3 separate regions of the Homo sapiens genome follow, and regions 1 and 3 are each linked to region 2. The links are contacts of gene promoters, found by promoter capture Hi-C in blood cells and fetal thymus (Javierre and others, 2016). All regions are on one chromosome and are shown on one strand. Each heading gives the region's core, a stretch centred on a gene start or on the middle of the fragment in contact. The rest is flanking DNA. Distances are from core to core; before and after follow the strand shown.

Region 1 (3,468 bases), core at 598-3,097, 270 kb after region 2:
GTCACTTTCCTTTCTGGGCTTGAGGGAAGCCAGCTCTTCCACAGTCAGAACTTGCGGGTGCACAGCCCAAGTACCGCTTAGAAACTCCCATCCTCACCAAGGCTCAAGCAGCTTCAAGTCTTCTTGATCTGTGGAAAATAAAGTTTTGTTTTATAGACTGTTACTGGAAGTATGTTCTAGATGATACTCTCTTTCTTGTGGAGCTCTTAGGTTTCTTTTCTTAGAAGGTCTGGTCTGTTGGGGCTTCAGACAGGGCGGCAAGAGCTTAGGTGGGTTCAAGGGCCTTAGCCCCCTGTGGCAGTAAAGGCCAACATCTCCTCACACCTCTCCCATTGTACTGAGTTCCACCAGTGGGGAGAATAGGCCAGCGTGCTCTTTATCAGCTGTTAGGTCTTAGACTGTTCATTTAACTTCTAAAACTCAACTTGCTGGCTCATCCCTAGGTTGGGAGGTGATTGCAGGTCAGGGAACATGGACAGTCAGGTAGCTGCCAAGACATAGTTTTACAAATTCTAGACCAGCACTTTCCAGTAGAACTTTCTCTGTTGATGGAACTGTCCTCTGCCTGCTTGGTCCAGTGCAGTAGGACTGACCACTTGAGGACTTGAAATATGGCTGCTGAGACTGAAGAACTGAACATTTCATTTACCTTAGTTTAAATTTAAATAGTGAGCTAAGGGCTAGTGGCTACACATTGGAAAGCTTATCTGAAACTGTTTTGATCATACACCCGTCAGTTTAAAGGACTTGAATATGCATGTGTGCTATTTGCTTACTTATATGCGGTATCTGTACTGCTGGTGAGCACTGTGCCACATTTGCTTATAGTACATGTGCGTTTCATTCACAATACGTTCAGCACAGGTACTACTGATGAGCAGTGTCAGTTAGAGGCTAGAAGTGCCAGCTCAGATTAGACTGCTCAGACTCGCATCCCCATTCTCCCTTTAGTAGCTCCACCACCTCCTTGAGCTTCAGTTTCCTCAGCTGTAAGTAGAGCTCATGGTAAAGACTCTGGTTACTTGTTAAGCCCTTAACATAGCACCTGGCACAGAGCAATGACTCAGTAAGTGTTGGCATAAAGTGTTTTACTAATGTTACTTTCTAGACCGTACCCCAACACTAGAAAGTTGTTGGAGGAGGAGGTGAATGTGGGAACCCTGGTCTTGTCTTCTCTGCACGTGGCAGCTCCTGCTCTGCCCAGGTGGGTGATGCATCTGGAGCAGCCCCTGTGCACAGCCCCTTAAGGGCAAAATGCTGTCCTTAGAGCCTTGGAATAGGCCCTGGAGCCTGCTGGAGGCTCGTTGGATCTGACGTGAAATGGAAGAATATTGAGAAGCCTTTCCCTGCCTGATGCCAGTTAGGGTCCTTAGAGCGGAAGGGCGCTGCACCGTGGCCACATCTCATCCTGGCTGCTGCGTGGCGCCAGGAGGCTGTGCACACTGTGTGAACTCCACACCAGCACAGTAGGGCCCTTCTAAGTTCCACCGAAGTTGGCTCTAAGCAAATACATGGTGTGAGCTCAACAAAATGGGAAATGTTGATAAATGAAGCTGCATTTTCATGCACTACCCTTGTTATGCAACCAGTAGTGATAAGGTGGTTTTGCTTTTGGTGTAAGTCTCATGTTTGAAACTTGATTTTTAGTCTGACCAATGATGTATTTGGATGTAGGAGAAACTGATTCAAGACAATTGACTAATGGTGGAGGTTCACCTTTGAGCACCTTATTGATCACTTTAAAGATTAAACACCAAAGTTTTAATATATTTCTACTAAGGTTTCTTTTCCCTTTGTATGAGATGTAAAATGATACCCAGATTCCTGTATCCAATAACATTATGCTGCTGGTTCGATCAGCCTTGTAGAAAATTTAAGGAAAACAAATTCATCGGTTTACAAAAATCTTTTCCTGTGTGCCTGCTCCTCGGTGTGAGAACAGCCAGGGCAGAGCTGTGGTGCCAGGTTCCCAGCTGTGTCCAGGGTACACCCTGGCTGACCAGCTTCCTATCCTATTCCTTGTTTTGCGTGACTTTCAATTTCCTGGCATGCTTTTAAAATGCGCTGCACACAAGCAAATGGCTCCTCAGGCAAGCGAGGCCCAGCAGGCAGCGTGGCTGGACTTTCTGCTCCTCTTAGGCTTGGTCAGTGAGTCACTTGATGGGACTGGTGTCTTGGGCAGGCTGCTGTCATGTTTTGTAAACCTAAAAATGTTTTTCTGTGTTTCTCCAGTTTGAAGAAGGTGAAGAAGGAGAAGAGGAGGTAAGAGACAGGTTTATGCAGTGCCACTTACCTCCCTGAAGTTGTTTCTTTGGCTTTCTCTGCTTGAAGGTTATGGACTCACAGGGCTGTGTTAAACCCATTTTTTGTGACGCTGTCTTTGATTCTAAGAATGTTCTTAAAACACTAAGCAGAAATGCATAGCAAATGCTGTGACAGTTTCCATCGTTTTTGACCCTGCAGTTGGTTCATGAAAATGTATCTTAGAAAATAATCATTTAACAAAATCTACTTTTTCAGAATTTTGTTTCTTTCAGGGCTCTCTGTGAGAACAAAAAGATACCTAGAAATAATTCTAAGTGTCCAAAGGAAGTGATGAGTCACTTGTGGGTAGCAGTAATTGATTTCCATCTAAGGCAGTGTTTTGCTCCTTGTGTTTGTGGATTGTGAATGCCACAAGAGTTTAAATCTTGTCATTCCAGCTAATTCTCACTTTTTAAATACAGGAATTAGAAGGTGACGAGGAGGGAGAAGACGAGGATGATGCGGAAATTAACCCCAAGGTTGGTAACTTTGGGGCCACCCAGACCTACTTATTATGCTGCACTCTTAGACTTTTAAAAATGTTCCCCACTTTGAGGCAGTAGTGTTAACAATATTCATTATTCCCTAATTAGAAAGTTTAAAATGTGTCAGAAAAATAGTGGAATGATTATTCAGACACTGTGTCTATAATTTGAGTGTTGAGTGTACATACTCAGTAGAAGCTTTTCCAGCTGTCTCAAGCTGTGTCTTATTTACATAGACTCCTCAGTAGAGCAACTTGACTTTCCAAGTGTTTCATTCTTTTAAGGTAAGGTAATGATTTAACTGACAACATAAATAAACTTTTCTTTGTGCGTGTTTGGAAAAGGTGCAAAGAAGGGACTTTGGGGCTCTTTTTGTTAAGGAACAGAATAATGGGATTGTGGGCATCATTTGACCCAGTTGCACTTGAGCTGAGCATGCCCAGATGATGTGTCTAGATATCTCATATGTCTCAGATAATTTAAAATAAATTGGAAAGGTTTACTAAAGAAAACTGAGTTGAAAATGAGTGGGCAACCCCATTAATTTTACCTGCAAATTTAGATTTTTATTTGTGGTCTCAGAGTAACTTAAATCAAGGTACTTTGACCATTTGGCACATTTTAAAATCAGAAGTGCTTAAATGTCATCCTACAGCATCATAAGAGTTTCTTCTTGTAA
Region 2 (3,267 bases), core at 687-3,186:
GCACAGGAGCCAAGGCCCGAGCCGCACTCCCCAACCCCTGACTAGGGGCAATGACAAGCACAAAGAAGGTGCCGGGGGATGCTCAGCCATGAGGCAGGGGGCTCACGGGGGTCGGAGGAAGCTGCAGGGGGTTGCAGGCCCCTGAGAAGGAGCAAAACCTTGAAGTAGGGTGGGACCTGGGTCAGGGGAGAGGTATTCAGGGCTGTCTGGGCAGGGGACACAGCCCAGGCAAAGATGTGACAGGGAGGGCTCCAGGTGTGTGTTGGCGGCTTGATGGCTCTCTCTCTGTCTGTCTCTCTCTCTCTCACACACACACAGTCTGTCTCATCTCTGTTTCTCTGTGTCTATCTCTGTCTCTATCTCTCTGTAGCTCTCTGTCTCTGTCTCTCTGTCTCTGTCTCTCAATGTCTGTCTACATCTCTGTCTCTCCCTGTCTCTCTGTCTCTCTCTATCTCTCTTCTCTCTCCCGTGTCTCTCACCGCTGACGCCGCCACTGCTGAGCCTGGTCCTGATGCATCTCCCAGGACTAAGAACATGACCCATGTGGATCCTGGGGGAGGAGGGATGGCTGGAAAGGGAAGGGCTGCTCTGAGACCCTCTGCCTTTCAGCGCAGCTTCCGGTGGCCAATCTCTCTCGCACTCTGAGAACATCCTCGGGACTCTCAGCCTCGCTCCTTGCAAGTGGCCACTTGTATCTGCCCCTCCCCTTGTGTTAGTGGCTCCTGGAGAGGCCCCCTGGCCCTGCCACCATCACCAAAGCCCCTCTCTTGGCTTGAGGCTTCAGAGCAGCCTCCTGAGTGCACCGCCGGCAGCATGAGCCCCGGGATTCAGCTTCTGCTTAGGCCAGGAGTGCACAGGGAAGGCTGGGGGCTCCCTCCAGCTCCTCACACCGCATCTTCCCTCCTCCCTCCTCCTCAGACCACCTGCAGCCTCTGCCTTTGGGCACCTCCCTGGACACCTCCAGAGACCCTCCGGGGAGGGGACTTCGCCAGCAGGCTGGTCTAGGCTCACCAGGTGGGAGCCCCATGAGGGTCCACCGTGGAGAAGCTCCCACCTCTGGGGGAAGAGGAAGGCGCCACACGTGGGTTCCCCATGCACGTTCCCTCTGTCTGCAGACCCTTGTCTGGCACACGGTGGAGGGTGCAGCATCACCCTCACCACATCCATGAGGGACATGGACATCTTTTCAGCAAGTTAGTCCACCCTGCCAGGAGCCCAGGGCCTGCCCTCAGGTATGGGGAGGCATTAGGCACGCCTGACCTGAGGTGCAGAGGGCTGAGACCCGGCTGAGGTCCCGCCGCTGGGAAGGGTGGTCCAGGGGCTGCACCCAGAGGGCACCTGCAGGGCCATGGATGCCACTCCCTGTGCCCCCAGCGGGGGCACAAAAGACTCCTGAGGACCATGTCTGTCTCCATCTTGCAGGTCCCTCGCCAGCACCCTCTGAGCCGGCCAGGATGTTTGGGCTGTTCGGCCTCTGGAGAACCTTCGACAGTGTGGTCTTCTACCTGACGCTGATCGTGGGCCTCGGGGGACCGGTAGGTAACGGGCTGGTGCTCTGGAACCTCGGCTTCCGCATCAAGAAGGGCCCCTTCTCCATCTACCTGCTGCACCTGGCCGCCGCCGACTTCCTGTTCCTCTCCTGCCGTGTGGGCTTCTCCGTGGCTCAGGCTGCCCTGGGCGCCCAGGACACACTCTACTTCGTGCTCACCTTCCTGTGGTTCGCGGTGGGGCTCTGGCTGCTGGCGGCCTTCAGCGTGGAGCGCTGCCTCTCCGACCTCTTCCCCGCCTGCTACCAGGGCTGCCGGCCCAGACACGCCTCGGCCGTCCTCTGCGCCCTGGTGTGGACCCCGACCCTGCCGGCCGTGCCGCTGCCCGCCAACGCCTGCGGCCTGCTGCGCAACAGCGCGTGCCCCCTGGTCTGCCCGCGCTACCACGTGGCCAGCGTCACCTGGTTCCTGGTGCTGGCCCGCGTCGCCTGGACGGCTGGCGTGGTCCTCTTTGTCTGGGTGACCTGCTGCTCCACTCGCCCGCGGCCCAGGCTCTACGGCATCGTCCTGGGCGCGCTGCTCCTGCTCTTCTTCTGTGGCCTGCCCTCGGTCTTCTACTGGAGCCTGCAGCCCCTGCTGAACTTCCTGCTGCCCGTGTTTTCCCCGCTGGCCACGCTGCTGGCCTGCGTCAACAGCAGCTCCAAGCCCCTCATCTACTCGGGGTTGGGCCGACAGCCCGGGAAGCGGGAGCCGCTGAGGTCGGTACTGCGGAGGGCCCTGGGGGAGGGCGCCGAGCTGGGTGCCAGGGGACAGTCCCTGCCCATGGGTCTCCTATAAGTGGGCTTGCCCCGCCCACAGGGCCTGCCAGGAGGTGCCCACCCCCACCGACCCTCGCTCACCCCACACCCAGATGCTTTCAGGACCAGGAGGAGCCCCGCCCACCACCTAGCTCTTACCCTGAGCACCCAAGGGCTGGACACAGCTGGAGAGACTTGGCCCTGACCACCCCCCAGCCAGGCCTGCTGAGGATGAGGGAGGCAGAAAATGGAGCTGGAGAGAGGTCAGGCAAGGAGAGAGAAAGGAGAAGCCTCCTGAATAGGGGTGAGGACAGGCACCACGCCCCCAGGCCCAGCCCAGATCCCCTTACCCGGCCCCTCCCCACCCTGCTGCACCTGAGTCACAGGGGAGAAAACTGCACAATAAAACAGAGCCAGCCACCAGCCCACAGTGGCCGGATTGGAACCCAGGCTTCCGGACTCCTGGGCTAGGTGGGCGCCGTCCATGCCACCTGCTGGCTGAGGCTCTGATTCGCCCCCTACAGAGTTGAGGTGGAACTACTCCTTACTCCCCGCCCTGCTCAGCCATCATTGTCCTGCCCACCCCGCGGGGACCACACCCAGGGCTCTGTCCCCCTCTCTGAGGCCCAGGACTGGCAGGTGCCTGATGTCACCAGCAGAGGCCACCAGGTGGTGCTGCTTCTGCACAGAACAGACCCAGCCCCGTGGGCCGGCGGATGCAGGAGCCTCCATCCCCTCGGTCCCCTCCCATCCCCTCCCACACTGGTCCCCACCCGGCCTCTCCTGCGTCCCCAGGGCCATCCGCTCTCTGCGGGTTGCTCCCGTCTCCCACCTCTGCTCTCACCCTCCCTCCTCAGCCCTGGATCATCTGGAGCTTTTGCCCCAAGTGTTTGCTTTGGAGAGAGAGAGAGAGAGACAGAGAGAGAGAGAGAGACAGAGAGAGAGAGAAAGAGAGAGAGAGAAAAGAAAAGAAGGAAAGAAGG
Region 3 (3,320 bases), core at 1-2,500, 300 kb after region 2:
GTCACCACCCCAGCTCTGTCTGTCTCAGGCAGGGTCCCCACTGCAGCCATGGCAGGCCCAAGTCCCCCACAACACAGGCCAATGACTGCTGTGTCCAGCCCAGCTGCAGGCTTCAGCCAGGGCCTGGCTAAGCGTCCTTCCTCGCAGTGAGCTGGGCGCAGCCTGTTCAGAACAGGCCCCATGGCAACAACCCCGGATTGTTACTATTATTGTTGCTGTTGTTTTTCTGTTTATCTCTTTTTACCCTGCCAGGGTGGCCCCTCCTGCCCCAAAAAGCAGAGGCCCTCTCTGCCCACGGTGGGGGTCCAGCCCCTCCCAGGAGCAGCTATTTTAGCACTAGTCTAGTCCTGGGCCCAGAGGCTGAAGAGCAGATGGCTTGGAGGTGCCAGGAATGCCACAGGCTTCCGGAGAGGCCGAGAGCCCCCACCCCCACCCTGGCGGGTCCCAGAATAGCCCCCCCGCCCCGCACTCTGGCTGTCAGGCAGCCATCCTGGGTGGTGGCAAATCATCACCTGTCCCCACCACCCAGGGTCTGGTCCAGAAGCCCAGAGGAGCTGGTGGTGGAGGTGTCTCGCCCCGGCCCGGGAGCTGAGCGGTTCTGGGGGGCTGGCAGACAGACACCTGCCGCATCGGAGCTGCCAGGGTTTCAGGGCATCCTTCCATGACAGTGTGGCCTCTGAGGGCTGGCGTCTTATCCTACCATGACAGCGTGGCCTCTGAGGGCTGGCGTCTTGCTCCTATGGGACCTCCAAAGGGGCCCACGCTGGTCTAACCACTTTGCCACGTTAGGTCATCTCATCTGCCAAGGACCCTGCAAGGCGGGCACTTTGGCCTCATGGGACAGATTTGGAGAGTTTGGGAGACTTGCTCTGGTCACACAGCTGGTGGGCAGGTGGGCTGCCACAGATCCCAGCCAGCTGCCCATCAGAGGCCGGAGTCCACTGTCCTCACAGCGTGCCCACCACTGCAGTTGGCTCTCCCTCCCTGGCCTGTATGCCTGGTTCCCTGTGGACCCTGACATGTGCCAGATGGGAGGCCAAGGGCTCCCCAGCCTCCGCCGGGGAGGAGCCTCTACTCTCAGAGGCCTGCCCCACTGGAGACCCCTGCCGTGCCCCCCAGCAGGCCCTGTGTGCCCACTCACCATCTGGAGGAGCCCGAAGAAGGACATGAGGTAGCCAGCTTGGGCGGCCTCCAGCTGGAAGAAGTCCATGGAGATGATGGAGAACATGACCATGAAGAGCCCTGAGCCGGGGCAGGGGAACAGGGGTGAGTACCCCCACACCCCGACCTTGGCGCCCACCTCCCTCCCGCCTCAGCAGCCTGGCCAATCAGGGTGTCTGGGCCCTGGCTGGTGACTGGTTCAGGGAGGGGCCTGTGATGCCAGCCGGGCCAATGAGACCCTTCCCTGGGATTCTGCCGTATCCCTGGTGTGGAAAGTGCCTCTCGTGTGGTTGCTAAGCTCTGGACTGTGAGCAGGAAGGTGCTGGAAGGGAGGGACCCAGGGCTGACCACGTGGGAGGATTTGGCCCCCAAGACCCACCACGGCTCTCTGTTATAAGAGCCCTCAAAGTCACGTCTGCAATCCCAGCACTTTGGGAGGCCGAAGAGGGAGGACTGATTGAGGCCAGGAGTTTGAGACCAGCCTGGAAAAGATAGTGAGACCCTGTCTCTACAAACACTTAAATTAGCTGAGCGTGGTGGCCCATGCCTGTAGTCCCAGCTGCTCGGGAGGCTGAGACAGGAGGATTGCTTGAGCCTGGGAGGTGGGGCCTACAGTGAGCTGAGATCATACCACTGCACTCCAGCCTGGTCAGTGGTCTCAAAAAAAAAAGGGCCCTCAAAGGGCCTGTTACTGAGGTTAGTAACTTGGGTTCCAGTTTTGAGAACCAACAGAGCTGGCCTAGGTGGGCTGGGTGGGACAGGGGCCGGTGCCAGTTGGAGTGCTGAGGGCCTATTCTCCATCCTGCTTCCTGGCTTCTCAGTTAGAGGAGTCCAGGCGGGGCTTCTGAGGGACAGGGCTGCTCGTGGGCTTGTCCGTGGCTCGCTATCCTATCTGTGGTCCGTGACGCCCTACGGTCTGCTGAGAGGGCCCAGGGCCAGCATGCTGCAGAAGGCAGTGGTGACACTCAGACCTGCTGTCCCTGCATCTCAGGCTGTCTGGAGAGGACGTGGGGCCACAGGGTATGAGGGTAAGAGCTGAGGAGCACACAGGGATGCATGGCTGCGAGCCAGGCCCTCTGCCCGTGGGGGCCCACCCTGGGATCTGCAGGTGTGCAGTGTAGAGGGGCTGGAAGGAGGTGGGAAAGACACTTTTCTGCCTTCCTCCCGCTCCTGCCTGCTCTACCACATCTGTGTGGACCTGTGGGGCACAGGCCAGAGGAAGGGCCGGGCCCTGGCCGCAGCTGGGACTCTGCCAGGCTCTGGCCGCTGTTGGGGCAGTAGTTGGGACTCACCTGTGGGGCAGTTGGAGGCCACCTTCACCAGGAAGATCCTCGGGACGTCTGGCAGCCGCAGCAGGGAGGCGATGGCCTTCAGGTCGAACACACTGGCCCGGGGGCCGCCTGGCACGGAGAGGCCATTCAGGCCTGCAAAGGCCATTGTCCCAATGCCCACCCCTCGCCCGGCTGCAGGCCTCGCCATTCGGAGGGCCCTGTTGCGCCCGCCAGGGTAAAGCTTCCTTCCTTGGCTTCAGCACCGCTCACTTGTGGGAATGGGAGCTGGTGATGCTCCCAGCTGCCAGGTTGGGCACCGCCCCTCAGCACACTTCTACGCATTCCTAGGGGCCCCCTGAATCCCCAGAGGCACTTAGGAAAAGCATTCTCTGCACGCAGGTAGACTGGCCTCAACCTGGGCATGCAGTGGCGGAGGCCTGCGGCAGTCCCTGAACAAGGGACCAATAGCTGCTTCCTATATGGTCCTGGCCTGGGGCCTGGGGCAGAGCATGACCAGGCCACCAGCCCAGAGGAAGACAATGGCAATACTGTACCACTCTCTGTGGCCACAAGTCACCGCCGTGGCCTGGCCCACCGGGCACCTCTGAGTGCGAAGCCACAGGCCCCCAGCCCGGCTCACCGAGTCCTTCCTCCTTATTGTCTCAGGGGCTCCTGCCTCTCTGGCTCTGCTGTGCTCGCCACAGGCCCATCTCCACCCGGCCCTCCCCCTGGACTTTCTAGGTTAATTCCATGACAGCCTCCTGCCCCAGGATGGTCCCAGGTGGGTCCCTCTGGCCCAGGCTGGGCTCTTAGTCCCTAGGCACCGAGGCATGGGCCCTGCCACGTGCCTGGCACAAAGGGGCTGCGTTCAGCAGGGGGCCAGCCTTG

Evidence for each region. The method cuts DNA at HindIII sites, captures the fragments that hold promoters and counts their contacts. A CHiCAGO score of 5 or more calls a contact.
Region 1: a contact is called between a fragment that was not itself captured here and the fragment with the promoter of MRGPRG-AS1 in region 2, in 5 of 17 cell types (M2 macrophages, M0 macrophages, M1 macrophages and 2 more). The highest score is 10.2, in M2 macrophages.
Region 3: a fragment that was not itself captured here is called in contact with the fragment with the promoter of MRGPRG-AS1 in region 2 in 1 of 17 cell types (erythroblasts); the score reaches 5.2 in erythroblasts.

Annotation. Positions count from the first base shown.
Region 1 is chr11:2,950,574-2,954,041 of GRCh38, reverse strand. NAP1L4 (nucleosome assembly protein 1 like 4) reads left to right here. Exons shown (of 16, transcript NM_005969.4): 13 at 2,233-2,262; 14 at 2,727-2,783. Among named protein-coding and RNA genes, the nearest start is that of SNORA54, 12 kb to the left of the region's middle. The HindIII fragment of the contact is 2,285 bases long and covers 705-2,989 here.
Region 2 is chr11:3,217,001-3,220,267 of GRCh38, reverse strand. MRGPRG-AS1 (MRGPRG antisense RNA 1) reads right to left here and starts at 1,936. Exons shown (of 2, transcript NR_027138.1): 1 at 1,709-1,936. It overlaps MRGPRG (MAS related GPR family member G), which reads left to right and starts at 1,455. Exons shown (of 1, transcript NM_001164377.1): 1 at 1,455-2,324. The coding sequence starts at 1,455. The coding sequence ends at 2,324. RefSeq lists an enhancer at 1-359. The HindIII fragment of the contact is 7,931 bases long and covers 1-3,267 here.
Region 3 is chr11:2,917,229-2,920,548 of GRCh38, reverse strand. SLC67A1 (solute carrier family 67 member 1) reads right to left here. Exons shown (of 11, transcript NM_002555.6): 7 at 2,454-2,561; 8 at 1,142-1,242. Among named protein-coding and RNA genes, the nearest start is that of PHLDA2, 11 kb to the left of the region's middle. The HindIII fragment of the contact is 2,851 bases long and covers 1-2,675 here.